Linked DNA regions of Homo sapiens: region 1 is linked to region 2. Evidence: promoter capture Hi-C in 16 types of primary human blood cells and fetal thymus (Javierre and others, 2016). All regions are on one chromosome and are shown on one strand. The core of a region is centred on a gene start or on the middle of the fragment in contact, and the rest is flanking DNA. Distances in the headings are between cores, read along the strand shown. Region 1 has its middle 260 kb from the start of PLD5. Region 2 holds the start of PLD5 (phospholipase D family member 5).

The links. The method cuts DNA at HindIII sites, captures the fragments that hold promoters and counts their contacts. A CHiCAGO score of 5 or more calls a contact.
Region 1: a contact is called between a fragment that was not itself captured here and the fragment with the promoter of PLD5 in region 2, in 2 of 17 cell types (total B cells and naive B cells). The highest score is 6.6, in total B cells.

What each region holds. Positions count from the first base shown.
Region 1 is chr1:242,783,936-242,790,916 of GRCh38, forward strand. No RefSeq gene overlaps it. Among named protein-coding and RNA genes, the nearest start is that of PLD5, 260 kb to the left of the region's middle. RefSeq lists a silencer at 4,072-4,366. The HindIII fragment of the contact is 326 bases long and covers 5,074-5,399 here.
Region 2 is chr1:242,521,769-242,529,380 of GRCh38, forward strand. PLD5 (phospholipase D family member 5) reads right to left here and starts at 2,929. Exons shown (of 10, transcript NM_001372062.1): 1 at 2,320-2,929. The coding sequence starts at 2,508. The HindIII fragment of the contact is 2,750 bases long and covers 1,120-3,869 here.

The DNA of each region.
Region 1 (6,981 bases), core at 3,987-6,486, 260 kb after region 2:
CAGCAGAATGAGGGTATCTGTAATAGTCAACAAAGACAAATGGCTTAAACTTTGTTCCGGGTCCTGTCTCTGACTTGTGGCGCTAGAGTGGGCATGTTGCTTAATTTCTATGTCTCTCTGGTTCTACATTTACAAACTGGGGGTGGCGATGGGATTGAAATCTGTGTTTGCACATGTTTTGAAGCTCTTTGGAAGAAAAATTATACAAACCTGGAAAGCATCTTATAGTCCTAGGAAGAATGTTGCTCAAGTCTTAGCACAAAGCCAGGGGAGAACAGCTGCCTCTCAGCAGAGATCTAAATATCTTGCTTCTCCTTTCTCAGAAGAAAACACTGAACATGCAGCCACCTGTTTCCTGGCCAGGATGCTGGGTGCAATTGCACACAAGGGAGAAAAAGGCCTTTTGTTTTCTAACCAGCTGCATTTGCCGGCAGGTCTGTTGGAGTTCTACAAAACAGCGTGTGTCACGTTCTATAAAACAGCGTGTGTCACACAGCTTGGTGCTGCATGGCTGGACTCCCTGGTTTCTCTATTTTAGAACATCCAGGGGTTTGTGTCCCCTTTAAGAAAAGGTCATTTGGACATAATAACATTTGCCACCTTCACCAAGGCTCAATTCAAAGAGGAGTTGGCTCAGTTTGCATCAAACAATAAAAGACCTTTGTGGGACTAGGAGGGAGATGGAGAGAGGAGGAGGCAGAGTGGAAGGGAGTGGGGAGCCCTATCCTGGTAAGTTTCTGGGCACTAGAGGTTTTGTTCTGTTTTTCTTCATAAACAGGTGAACTGATTTCCTCTTATCAGGTAGAACATCATTTAAATATCAAGTCGCTCAGGGTGCTCAGGTGAAGAGGCTGGTGATGCTCCAGCCCAGATGCCTAGTCTTCGAGGAGAGCAGAAATGGCACCTTCTCCCAAGAAAGATGAACAGGAGGGAGTGGAAAGTCTCCAGCCTCACAAAAGACAGAAAAGCAGCAGCAGCAAGTGCATCACAATTCTGGAATCTGGGAAATAGACACGGGAATGGTAAATGCCTTTCTCGTGGTCATGCAGAAGCTGAATCCCAGCCAGCAGAGGCCCAAGCCAAGAAGCCACAGGACTGATGTCATGTGGGCTCCTGCGTCTCGGGAATCACAGGCTTGGAGTATGCCTAGAAGTCTTTGCCTAAAGAAGACTGGGCACACGTGTTTCAGCAAAACTCTAGAACCACAGATATTTTACTCAAGCCCTGTTAGCCAAACTATTGCCCCTATCTGAACCCCGAAAGCAGACTGGATGTTATTCTCTGAGAGTATCAAACAGAGAGTCTGTTGGATTAGAAACACCCAGGTGTGGTGTAAGCCAGGACTGTGCCAAGGAACACAGGTGGTTTAAGCAAACAATTTGTCTATTCTACTTTGAAAATCTCCCTCAACACGATCCCTTACCTCAGGGCTTTCCTCGCCCTTTCTAACAGCATGGAGCTGAATGGGTATCTTTCAGACAAGATATTAGAAGAGCCTTCTCTTAAATGAAACAATTAAGATATACCAAGATTGAGAATTCCCTAAGGAAACAGACTCCCCGCCTCCCAGCCCATCCTACTATGTGCCTGCAAATGGGCAAACCTCCCCCACCTGCATCAGCTTTTTAGTGTGACAATTTTAAAACATATGAACACGCAGGGAGGCTCACCAGATGCTGAAATATAATTTGTAATTAAAAAAAAGCAGGAGTCACAATATATCAAGAGTAAAAAGGAAATTTGGAGAAAGCAAATACTCAGGGGGATTTAAAAAAAAAATCTTGCAAACAATTGTTTTTCCATAAACCACTAGGGAAAAGGTAGATTGTTTGGTAGATTGTATTGGAAAAACTAGTTTACCATTTTGAGAATTTGAAGTTGGATCACTGCCTAATGCTACAAATAAAGGGAGATGCTAGAAGAATTAAAGGCCTAAAATTGAAAAGTAAAGCTATAAAGTTGATATAATGAAACATAAAAGACTACTCCCATGACTTAGGAGCAGGGAGAAACTTCTTTACACAAAATTCAGAAACAATACCTTGAACAAAACATGAAATAAATTGATAACATCCAATATAGGAATTTCTGTTTAATGGAGGGTGCTAAGGACGGTGACCATGGGAGGAGATATTTTCAATTTCTAAAATCAGTAATGGTGTCTAGAATATAAAGGGAACTCCTTCAAATGAGCAAGAAGAGACCAGAAACCCCCTACACCCTCTCTCCTACTCAATGATATCTCTGTAGCAAGGAAACACTTTCCCTCCTGTGCCGTCAATATCACCTTCATTATGGATCATTATCAGCAGATGCACATCCTCTCATTTATTCCTATTTTAAAACACCCCTTCTTGACCCCACTTCAACTCAATATTTCTACTTCCCGGCCAGGCGTGGTGGCTCACGCCTGTAATCCCAGCACTTTGGGAGGCCGAGGTGGGCAGATCACAAGGTCAGGAGTTCGAGACCAGCCTGGCCAATATGATGAAACCCCGTCTCTACTAAAAATACAAAAATTAGCCAGGCGTGGTGGTGTGTGCCTGTAATCCCAGCTACTCAGGAGGTTGAGGCGGGGGAATCGCTTGAACCCGGGAGGCGGAGGTTGCAGTGGGCCAAGATTGTACCACTGTACTCCAGCCTGGGTGACAGAGTGAGACTCCATCTTAAAAAAAAAAAATTCTACTTCCTTTCACAAAAACACCCCTCAAAATAGCTGTCCACACTCCATGTTTTCAACTGCTCTCATTCCCTTCTTAAATTCTTACCATGTAACATTTGATTAATGCAAGAGGATATCTGTAAATTATGAAGCATAATAATAAAATGAACACCAATGAAGCTTCTACTCCACTTAAAAACTGGAACATCACCAATTTCATTGCATTAACCTGTATGTTCCTTCTCTACCCCATCACTCTGCCTTTTCTTCTCCGAATGATAAAGCCACTATCTTATATTTTGTGTTTATCATTCCTTTCCATTTTATAAAGTTTTTATCCCACCTATCTGTATTCCTAAACAATACACATTAAAATTGAGGGGGCTCAGGTTTTGTTCGTTTTTCCTCCATGCTTTGAAGTCATTTTGTATTCAACATGTCCAGAAATTCCTAACCTTTTCCTTCACACTTCCCCCAGTCTCCTCAATCTTGCAACATCATCCTTCTAGCTGCTCAGACAGAATTAATTTTTTCACTTATGACTCCTCTATCTTGTAAAACATATCCATATCAGTAAGTCCTGTGGGTTCTCACTTCAAAATATACTCAGGATCCAACCACGCCTCATTGCCACTGCTTTCGCCCAGGTTCAAGCCACCATCATCTCTCATCTGGATTATTGAAAGTTCCACTGATGTGCACGCCTGCTTCACCCTTTCCCTTGCCCCCGCATTCACCTATAGTTTACTCTCCGCACAGCAACCAGAGTGATTATCTGGAACTCCGTGTCAGAGCACCTTAACCCTTCAACTCAGCACTCTGCAGCGGCTTCTATCTCAGGCAGAGTAGGAATCTACAAGGCCCTACGTCACACCCTGGACAGTCCCCACATCCCACACACAACTCTCCTGCTGTTTCCTTAGGGTCGCTCCCTCTAACCATCTGGCTCCTTGAACAAGCCAGTGCACTGCTGTCTCCAGGCCTTTCTTTGCTCATGCTGTTTTTCGTCTTACTTGGGAGGCCTTTTTCCTTGCACATGCCCTCTTCCTCAATGGCTCTCTCTCTCACCTCCTTCTCTTCTTAAATATCATCTTATCAGGGAGACCTCCTCCACTGCTCTGTTTAAAATAGTACTCTTATGCCCACCAGCACACTCTATCCCATTCTCCAGCTTTATTCTTCTCCATAAACACTTATCACATTCTGACATACTGTAACTTTTGCTTGTTTCTTTGTTTATTGCCTAGCTTCCCGCACTACACTATAAGCTCCTTGAAGGCAAGGGTTTTTGTCTATATCGTTTAGTGCTCTATCCCCAGCAATGCCTAGAAAATACTAGGTTCAACAAAGATTTATTGAATGAATGAATGGATGTAAATAATCTCCTCACTTCCTCACTTTTGCCCGCTACCAGTATCCCATCCCCAACTGCATAACATAGCTCCTCTTACCTATCCCTAAACAAACTCCAGCTCAAATCAAAATTATGCCCATGACAGAGCCCCAGGGACTTTTAGGTGGTAATTACAGGCTTTCTCTCTCTGCCTTTCCTCAGAGCCACAGGAGACGTGCTCCAAATTTTTGCCTCTTTCTCCTTAACATCCCTGAAGGCTGAGTCATAGCACTGGAAGCTTTAGAATGTGTTCTTGCACACTGAAGGTAAAACACTATTTCTCCAAAAGTCATTACCTATTTGTCTTCCATCACTGACATAGGCCATTGTTGATTATAAGGATATTAAAGCCTGAAGCCTAAAGGCCTATGGGTGAAACATTCAATTTTTCAGTGTTATTTTGTTATTTTAAGAGCCTGTGTGACAGACATATTTAGGCTTAATAGTACCCTTAGGAAAATAAAAAGGAAAAGGCAAGATTCTATTTACTGTATATCCTTCCTCTTTCTTGGAAAATCTCACATTACATCGGAAAAACCTAAATTACATGAAGTTTACAAAATTGATTGCCTCATGAATAAACGGATTTATTATTTAAGATGCTGAGGAGCACATTTCATTATTCAGTATCCTTGGAACAAAATATTTGAAATGTGGGATGAAAAATTTTCAAGCTGCTTCGCTAAATGAGGTAGACCAAAAAGAACATCCACACATTAACATAAAACATTCATCAGGAGATCAGCTGGCAATGTGATGAAGAGAAATGGCTACATTTTTTAATTTCTAATCAGTCCCATTAAATGTGTGGCTTGTGGCCACTTTTACTGTACTGTACTGTGGAACTCACCTCAGATCATGAAGCCTGTATTTAAAGATTTTATAAACTATCCACTAGAAGGAACTAGAACCTTCTAAAATGATGAGGAAGATATGCATGACCAAACACCTTAAAAACCAATTAGTTTCATTACCTGTTTGGTTCAAGCATTGAAGTTCAATATTTCTGTAACCCACAAGCTTTCCACAAATACAGCAACCGAGAAACACTGTTTCAATTTTTAACGGTCTTGCCCAGTTCATATTTCCTGGCTTATCTCTGAACTCCCCTCATCTCCTCTCCCTAAGTCTGTTTATGATGTGCTGTTTTATCAAGGTCAAATTCCATGGGCAAGTCATCGGCTTCATCATTTGTCTCATAACATTTTCAATAAATGTTAGACCCTCAGGGTCTTTAAGACAATGTGAGATACATATATATATACATCTATGTTTACTTTAGAGAAAAACAGCAGGGGTTTCACATCTCACTGATTTTAGAACTAAGTATAGTGAAGGGAAAAAAGCTTAAAATAGGATTTTCAATCTGGAAGGAACATTTTGATTTTTCCAGCTAACTCCTTCCTTTGATAAATAAACTCAGAGAGGTAAAGTGATTTTCTTAATGTCAAACAGCCAGTTCGTTGCTGCACTAGAATTGGAACTGAGATATTTGACTTCCAGTCCTGGTTTTTATCATCATTTTTTGAAGTGGTGATCTGCATAATTTACCAATGTCTTCCTTATCCCCACATTAAGTTAGGCATCAAATCTTCAATGTATTTATTTTCTGGTCTTTCCTCCCCAGTGCTGGCACCACTGCCTGCTCCAGCCCCTCACTGTCTCCTTCTGGATACTGCGGGGTCCCTCTGCCCAGCTGTCCTGCCACAGACCCCCTCATACCAGCTGCTTCTCCATGAGGCTGCGAAATTACTCCAGCTAAAAGAACAACTCAGATCACAACTGCTTAAAAACTTCATTCGGCTTCCTATTGTCTCTAAAATCAAGTCCAAGCTCTTTGCCCTCTTTTACAATGTTCTTTGCAATTGTCTGGATCTCCAGCTCCCCCATGCCATCTCCACAAACTCTACTTTAGTCTTAGGGAGTATTTCATGTTCCTTTCCCCTGCCCACCATGGTTTTTGACATTCCTTGTTGAATTAGTCCGTTCTCACACTCCTATGAAGAAATACCTGAGGCTGGGTAATTTATAAAGAAAAGAGGTTTCACTGACTCACATTCCACATGGCTGGGAAGGCCTCAGGAAACTTACAATCACGACAGAAGGCACTTCTTCACAGGGCAGCAGAAAAGAATGAGTACAAGCAGGGGAAATGCCAGATGCTTATAAAACCATCAGATCTCATGAGAATTCACTCACTATCATGACAACAGCATGAGAGAAACCGCCATGATTCAATTACCTCCCACTGGGTCCCTCCCATGACATGTGGGGATTACGGGAATTATAATTCAAGATGAGATTTGGGTGGGGACACAGCCAAACCATATCACTTATCTATCTGGAAATACATCCTGTTTGTTTGATTACTGGGAAATCCCTAGTCATCCTTAAACAGCCATTCACTTCCTCTTAGCTTTTGTAACACTTTGGGAAAGTGTCAAGCCCACCTTGGTTCCTTCAATAATCTCTGCTGGTCCCCAGTCCCTCTCTCCAGCATGACTTGCTGGGCCACGCCTAACTTGCCCTGCCCACTGCATTAGCTCAGACCTGGCTCTGCCTCCTAGGGTGATTTTGCCTGTTCAAGACTCAGAATGTTTGGTTTCTTGATTCTCATGGCAATCTTTTTTCTTAACACTGGGTCTCTATAAATAATCATGTGTTATGACCTCCCTTGTTATCCATCCAAGACCCTGGCCATTTGCACCCAACAATGACTTCTCACACTAGGAATGTGCTCCCAAAGGCAGCTCACAGCAGGCCTGACCCATTGACCCAGGAGGATAGACAGTAAAAAGATTTATGTAGAACTTCTCATTCTGCAATGATGCAAAGTGCTTGCATGTTTGTCTACCTCTTTAAACAGTGAATTACTTAAGGTCAGAGACTATGTCTTCTTAATCTTTAAATGCCAATGTCTAAAACA
Region 2 (7,612 bases), core at 1,679-4,178:
CCATATATGTTCAGAATGTTGTTTACAATGAAGTCAACATTAGATTTTCATGCTTTCTGTAGCAATGATACCAGGTTACATTTGTTATAGGTTTTTGACATCTCAAACATTAATTTCTATTAGAAATTACCATCAAACTACCTGAAATATTATAGTGCATTCAACATGACGTATATTATAAACAACTAGCTCTTGAATTCAAAAAAAATTTATATTGTATACTAATTTAATTTTTCATAGCACTTTCTTTAATATTAATTCATTAAAAATGTTCGTGATGTTTCAAAGGAGCAAGAGAATACCACCAATAAATTTATTTAAAGCCCCATTTCTAATTGAAAGGGTGTGTAGAGAAAAACATCAGAATAGATATATGCATCTCTCATTAAATGTAGTTGAAAAAGTAAAACAAATGCTACACTGATTTAAATATCAAATGAGGAGAATGATTTTTTTAAAAATGTATGCAATGCTCTCTTTTGGAGTATCTGAGTGAAGAAGAAAGCATAGATGCTCACACGCTTTCAAATAACCACATCTTCCTTTCCCTGGTCTCCAATCCTCAGAGGAGGCTGAGCATCCCATACTCATGCAGAAAGGTGAGACTGCTGTGGCACACATGGTATGACTTGATACTTTCAATGAAAATCTAAAAGTGAGAAAGCATTTAAGTATAATGCGTGCACCGCTCATGACTCAAGACATAGTCATAGAAGGCTGCACCACTGATTTTCAGTAAGAGAATAAAGGAAATAGACCAGCTAAAAGCACAAACTGCAAAAGAACATACATTCAGAGTGAAACTAAAACGAAGATACGTTCTATCACCCTCCCAAGGCTAGACTGTTATCCCTGATACTAAAATCAGCCACATCATTGGTTGATTACATGCTCTTTGCATGTAATGCATAAAGATGCTGTTTGCCCCCTTTAAACTAATAACACCACCAGCCCCTTCACTAATTCTGGAGAGGGCATGTTTAATGGATACGTTGCCTTTCAAACAACTTGCCATCCTAGAAACCTTCAGCGACTTCCATAGTCTTAAGGATATGAGGCATCCCTTTGACATTAGCAAATGGCTCTCTACACATAAAATAGTGCTGTTATCCAACTCAAAGCTTCATATTAGAGCTTTCAGTGACTTCATCAGGCCCTCAGAAAGCAGGCACAGACCTTCCTTTCAGATTATTATAATAGAGAAATGCCCCTTCTTCGCGTGTTTCCTCCTGGGAAGAAGCCTGTTGGTGCTGCAGAGCCCAGGAGGAGTGCTTTGGGGGGCAGATGGGAAGCAGGTCGGTGCAGCAGTTGGAAATGCGTGAGTTCCAGGAGTTCTTGGTCTTATCTTTTTTATCATTGTTGGCGTCCTGACCCAAATACAAGGAAACCTCCACATTCCATTAGCAGACTCAATTTGGATTCTGCAGCTCTGCAGGGAGAAATAGCATCTTCTCCTTAGCTAGTTGTGCTGCACTCTTGAGATAATTCTCTTAGTTTAATTTTAACATTTGGTTTAAGAAGATGCTGATGGATCAAATTTGAAACTGTGGATCCACTAAACGCCTTTTTAGAAGGTTTTTTTTTTTTCTTTCAAAATAGCAAGCCTTAGGAGCTCAACTCCAGAGCCAATTCACTTCGCGTGAAGTCGGCACTCCTTGGGAGTAGAGGTCCCCTCTCACCGGCTCCCACCCTCCAGAGGGGAGGATTTCTGGGGAGCCCGACGATCCGCTCGCTTTTAGCCTTTCTCCTTGCAACGCGCAAATCTCTCCCTAGTTGGGCTCAAGTAGAGAGGATCACCAACTGCTCATCCCAGCGGACACTCTGCAAAAAACTCTAATGGCTTGTGCGCGGGTCCACGCTGGTCGCTAGCGGCGCCAACTTTACTCATTCGTTAATTTGCTAGTTTTTGGACTGAGTAAAACAGCCCCCAAAGACGCGGGCAAACGCCGCTCTAAAGCCCACTACCATGCAACGCCAGGTTGCTCGGAGCCACGCTGGTGGCACTTCCCCTTCGTGCTCACTCTGCACAGGCACCTCCAGAACCCCGTGCAAATGAACCCTACCGGGAGACGCAGGTGGGCAGGTCGGGTCGGCAGGGACCAAGAGCCTGAAAGGGAACCTGCCCTCCCCTCCCCGCAGCCCGGTCATTAAGGCAAGAAACTGCAGGCAGAGAAGCCCCCGAATCCGACCTAGGACGTCGGCGCCTGCCAGGATCCCCTCGCCTGCCCCCCGCGCCCCGCGCGCGCTCATGCCACCACCACGGGGAGGGTGCATGCGGCAGGTGCCTGGCCGAGGCCCCCGGGAGCGAGTCGCCCTTACGTGCTCCAGCTTGTCTTTCCTCCGAAGCCAGACGCTGGCGCTGTAGTCCTGCTGCTTGACGCTGCTGTAGAAGTTCGCGCCCACTCGGGTCAGGCTTGGGGAGGGCTCCTTGGGGCGGCTTTTGAGCCTCATCTGCTCGAAGCCCTCATGGGGGGAGGCCGAGAGCCACTCGTGCTGCCGGATCTCCATCCTGACATGACCGGGCGGCCGCCGGCGAGCAGCGGACTCGGGACGGGCGCGCGGGGAGCCGGGCGCGGAGGGCGAGCGGGAGGCCCAGCGGGAGCCGGAGGTGGAGCTGGAGACTGAGCTGGAGGAGCTGGAGGAGCGAGCGGGCGCGGGGAGCGCGGGGTGCTGAGCGCCAGCTGGGAGCGCGGCCGGGCGGGAGGGGGCGATCGCGGGAGGCGCGGGGCGGAAGGAGGGAGGGCGAGGTGCGGGCGGGGGCGGGGGCGGGGGCGGAGGGGGACGGACGGGGAGAAGGGGGACGAGAGGGGACAGGGAGGGAAAGGAACCTGCTCCGGGGAGACAGAAGTGCCCGGTGCGGCGGCGACGTCGCCCGGCGGCTGCGGTCCCGAGCGGGCGCTCCGCTCGCCGGCTCCTTGCGGCACCTACTGGGACCCGGGCCGGCTCCCGGGGCGGCGGCGGCGGCGGGGGTGGGGTGCGGTGGGAGGGGCCGCGGCTGGCCCAGCCAGCCCGCGCCTGCAGGTTGGTGCAGTGAGGAGCCGCCGCCGCCCCTCCCGCCGCGCCCAGGCCCGGGCGGCCGCGCTCCCGCTCCGCACCCGCCTTTCCCGAGCAGGCTACACCTCTCCCTGGCGCATCTTTACTGGAAAGCCGGCAGGCGAGGGGAGAAGTGAGCGCCGTCTCCGCGCCTCCTCGGTCCTGCTGGCTGAGCGCGGGGATGGCTCCGGAGGGAGACACTCAGGAAACCACCTCCGCCCTTCCCCCATCTCTATCCAGCGGCGCCCCCTCACCCTGCCCCCGGCTCGCTTGGGCTGCGCCTTCCCCCATTCTGAAAGTTCACTAACTTCCCACCCCAAGGGACTTAGAGCAGAGGGTGCCCAGCATTCCCCCCTGAAAATAGCCGAGAGACATGTGTTTTCTGGAGCCGTACACGCTACTTTCATCCGATGGTGTGGCGATGCAAATACGCCCGGGGGCAGTAGCCCCTCGGGCAGGCACGCGGGACCGGTTGCTCCCCAGCCCTCGGTGTCCACCTAGAACCGGGCTCCCCGGGCCGCACCCATTCCGATCCTGGGAGGGTGATCCAGGGCTCCTCTGCAACGCTCCGCTTGTGCGGTGACTGTTCCTTAGGTGGACGTGGCCCAACTGCTGTGCATTTGTTTCTTTTCTCTGTTTCTAGGCCCCTAGGGTCCAGGCTTTTCCTTCGGGGCCCAGCCAAGCGTGATGATTATTAGGAATAGGGTGGCTTGTTCGCGATTAAATCTTCAATCTCTTCATCTTTTGCTATCTTTGGAGTCAACCTCTCGAAACATTTTTTGGTTTTATCTAAATGCTAAACAGCTGGTGTTCAGGGTGTCTCGTGTCTGGTTAAAAGCTTGGGAAGTGTATGGAAGCTGGAGAGGTATACAGGGGATTTTAGAGGGTGTTGCCAAGGGTAAACTGAAGGCTCTCTAGCCCTCGGCAGAACTGCCCTACTTGAATGACGGTTTCAAAGACATTCTGGCTGGGATTTCACAAACTTTTAGGAGGACAGGGATTGTGTTTCATATCTTTTCAAAGTCTCCATTTAAAAAAATGGTATAGTAAAAATAGTAGTTGAAATAAAATCCTGTGCACATTCAATATGGGGATGAAACAACTAAACACAAATACACACATTTTGGTTGTGCTAGGTTGGTTTTCTTAGGAGCTGAACTATATTGTGCAATAGATGCCCCGACCTGTGGGCTATCTCTAAGTCTCATGTTATCCTGCAAGATAAATGTTATTAACCCTCCTTTCCAGTGAGGAAAGTGAAGCAGAAGCAGAAATTACACTTCAAAACAAGGATATGAACCAGATTGAAAAGCTGTGAAGGCCAGGCGGAGTGGCTCAGGTTTGTAATCTCAGCCCCTTGGGAGGAGGAGGCAGGAGGATCACTTGATCCCAGGAGTTCCAGACCAGCCTGGGCCTACACTAAAAATAAAATAAATTAGCCAGGCGTGGTGGTGCTCATCTGTGGTTTCAGCTACCTGGGAGGCTGAGGCGGGAGGATCGCTGAAGCCTGGGAAGAGGAGGCAACAGTGAGCCGATATCGCACTGCACCCTGGGCGACAGGGCAAGACCCTGTCGGAGGTGAGGCTGTGAAAACTATACATTCCATTGTATAGCATCTCTGATAATTTTGTTTGTTTGTTTTGTTTTGTTTTTGAGATGGAGTCTCGCTCTGTCACCAGGCTGGAGTGCAGTGGCGCCATCTCGGCTCGCTGCAACCTCCGCCTCCCGGGTTCAAGCGATTCTCCTGCTTCAACCTCCCGAGTAACTGGGACTACAGGTGCACGTCACCACGCCCAGCTAATTTTTGTACTTTTAGTGGAGACGGGGTTTCACCACGTTGGCCAGGCTGGTCTCTCAAGTGATCCGCCAGCCTCGGCGTCCCAAAGTGCTGGGATTACAGGCACGATCTGATTTTTTTATTATTACACTTTGCCCTACTATTCACTGTCCCCCAGTTTTTACTATTAAAGTTTAGCCTCCATAGCTTATGCTTTCTTTAAAGTATAACCACACAATTTAAATGACGACAAACAATTATACAGTCTTTTATAATATTGTTAACAGAAAGATGTTATTGCCCTTCTGCAAAGAATACCTCTGCCTTTTGCTGTATGAGATTAGGTATTTGATATAGCCAAACCTTGACAAGTGATAGATATCCAATTCAGAGTAATAATGAACTGTTCTACCATAGAAGAATTTAAACAAATGGTTTCCATATTGTGCCAGATTCTCAAAGTAAATAGATTTTTTTTAAACTATACCTTTATAGGACTATACATAGTGACTGCAGTAGTTGCTACTATCTCCTTCTTTTTTTTTTTTTTTTTTTTTTTTTTTTTTTTTTGAGATGGAGTCTTGCTCTCTCACCCAGGCTGGAGTGCGGTGGTTCCATCTCGGCTCACTGCAATCCCCACCTCCCAGGTTCAAGCAATTCTCATGCCTCAGCCTCCCAAGTTGCTGGAATTATAGGCATGCACTATCACACCCGGCTAATTTTTGTTATTTATTTTTAGTAAAGGCAGGGTTTCACCATGTAGCCCAGGCTGGTCTCAAACTCCTGACCTCAAGTGACCTGCCCGCCTCGGCCTCCCAAAGTATTGGGATTACAGGCGTGAGCCACCGCGCCCGGCCAATCTCTATTTTTTGAAGAAGGTACACTGGTGGCATAAATATGACAGCATACTACTGAATTGAGCATTATAATTAATTCATAGATCACATTTGTTATGATCAAAAATACTAGTCAAAATATAAATTTTTACAGTTTCATACTTACTTGGTATGCAGTGCCAGACTCAATGAACCCAACAAGTTCAAATAAACCTGGGCGCAGACTTATTCATAATTATTTTTCTATCTTGGATTCTTGTCCAAGTTAATCGTTTATGCCAGTAATATGGAACTTGCTTGTTGACCTTCAAAAGAATATTTCATATAAAATTGAACCCAACTGAAACTGTTGTAGGGAAGAAAAATAGTGTTTCTGAAGATGGCCAGGTATAATATGAGAATTTTGCACCAAAAATATTACTGAAATGTATAATTACTGAATTTCTACATTAACTTCCACAGCACTTTTTCCAGCACATTTTCATAGCCATTACATTTTCTGAATGCAACACAGGTGTTATGGACCATCCATCCTACTAGCCCATTCGCTTCTTGGGAGCTGGAGCCACTCCTGATTCTTTACCGTGCTGTTAGTGCCTTACATATAATAAGCTTCCAATAAACTATGGTGAATAAATGACTGAATGGGTGCTAACACTTGGCAACATGTTTTTGCTTCTTTATTTTGAAAAACACTGGATTTGACATTACAATATTTAGATTTTAGTACTAGATCCTTTAATTACTAAATTGTGACTTTCATGGTTTTCATTGTATTTCCATAGCCTTCAAGTTCATCCAGTAAATGGGGAATAATCATTGCTACCTCAAGTGATTGCTACAGGGATGACACATGAGAAATTTCTGTATAAACTATAGAGTCCAATGTTACTGTTCTTAGAACTTTCAGGCCCAGAAATATTCTTTATGTCATTCTAATAAGTTATCATTTTCATTAGCAGCTATATCAATTAATCCTGATTGCTTATAATTAATTATAGAAACTGCACTCAGCTACAAATTTGAATTCTATTGAATTCAAACCTAAACTTAACAGATGTCATTGACCAGGAATTGTTAATATTGTCTGAATTAGGCACTTTGCATTGTCATAAAATTTAAGACCAAAAGTATCAAGAAGTGGGAGTATTTTATTAAAACTTTCATAGTAATGATAATACCTTACATTTCCACAATAGTTACATCTGTAGCACATATCACATTTACTCCTTGGAAAAATATCTGAAAGTAGTCTTGGTACTTGCTATCAGTTCCATCTTTCGAAAGGAGGAAACCAAAGCTCATGGAGGTTAAATGACCTGCCCAAAGCCATGTAAGTCAGAGAGTCTGGTCAAAAAGCCAGGTTCATTGACTCTCAATAAAGGATTTCTTTTTTCACCATGTCCGATAAAAAAATCTCAAATATATACTTCTTAGCAATTATAAGTTGTATTTTTCACAGGTGTAGTGTTGCCAAGTATTACTACATTTTGTCAAAGGTTTACTACTGAAGAATAAAACATGTTAATACTTAGACCTTCCCTAACAGCATGCTTTATGTCCTCCTCAATTACCCTTATACTATACAAGACCACATAAAATCATTGACCCAAGAATGGCTCTATTCTTTGTTGTCAAGAAATAGATTCAACAGCTAAAAACAACATGACTTTCCTAACCACATATGTTAATTATAGGATTATTTCTGTAGAAACAATTGAATAATTTAATACCAGTAGAACAAAATTAAAGTAGTCCCAGATTGAAAATGTTTTCTGAAGAATACATAAGCATTAATATGAGAAGGGTCTTTTATGTTACAGTATTTTCTTTAGCCTCGTAGTTATTATTGATTAGTTATAAAATGACAATGAAGGTTTTTTAAATGTTACATATTTAATAAAGTGAACTTATCTATGTACAAACTTACTTTAGACTAAAGATTCTCATTGTTTGACCACCTACT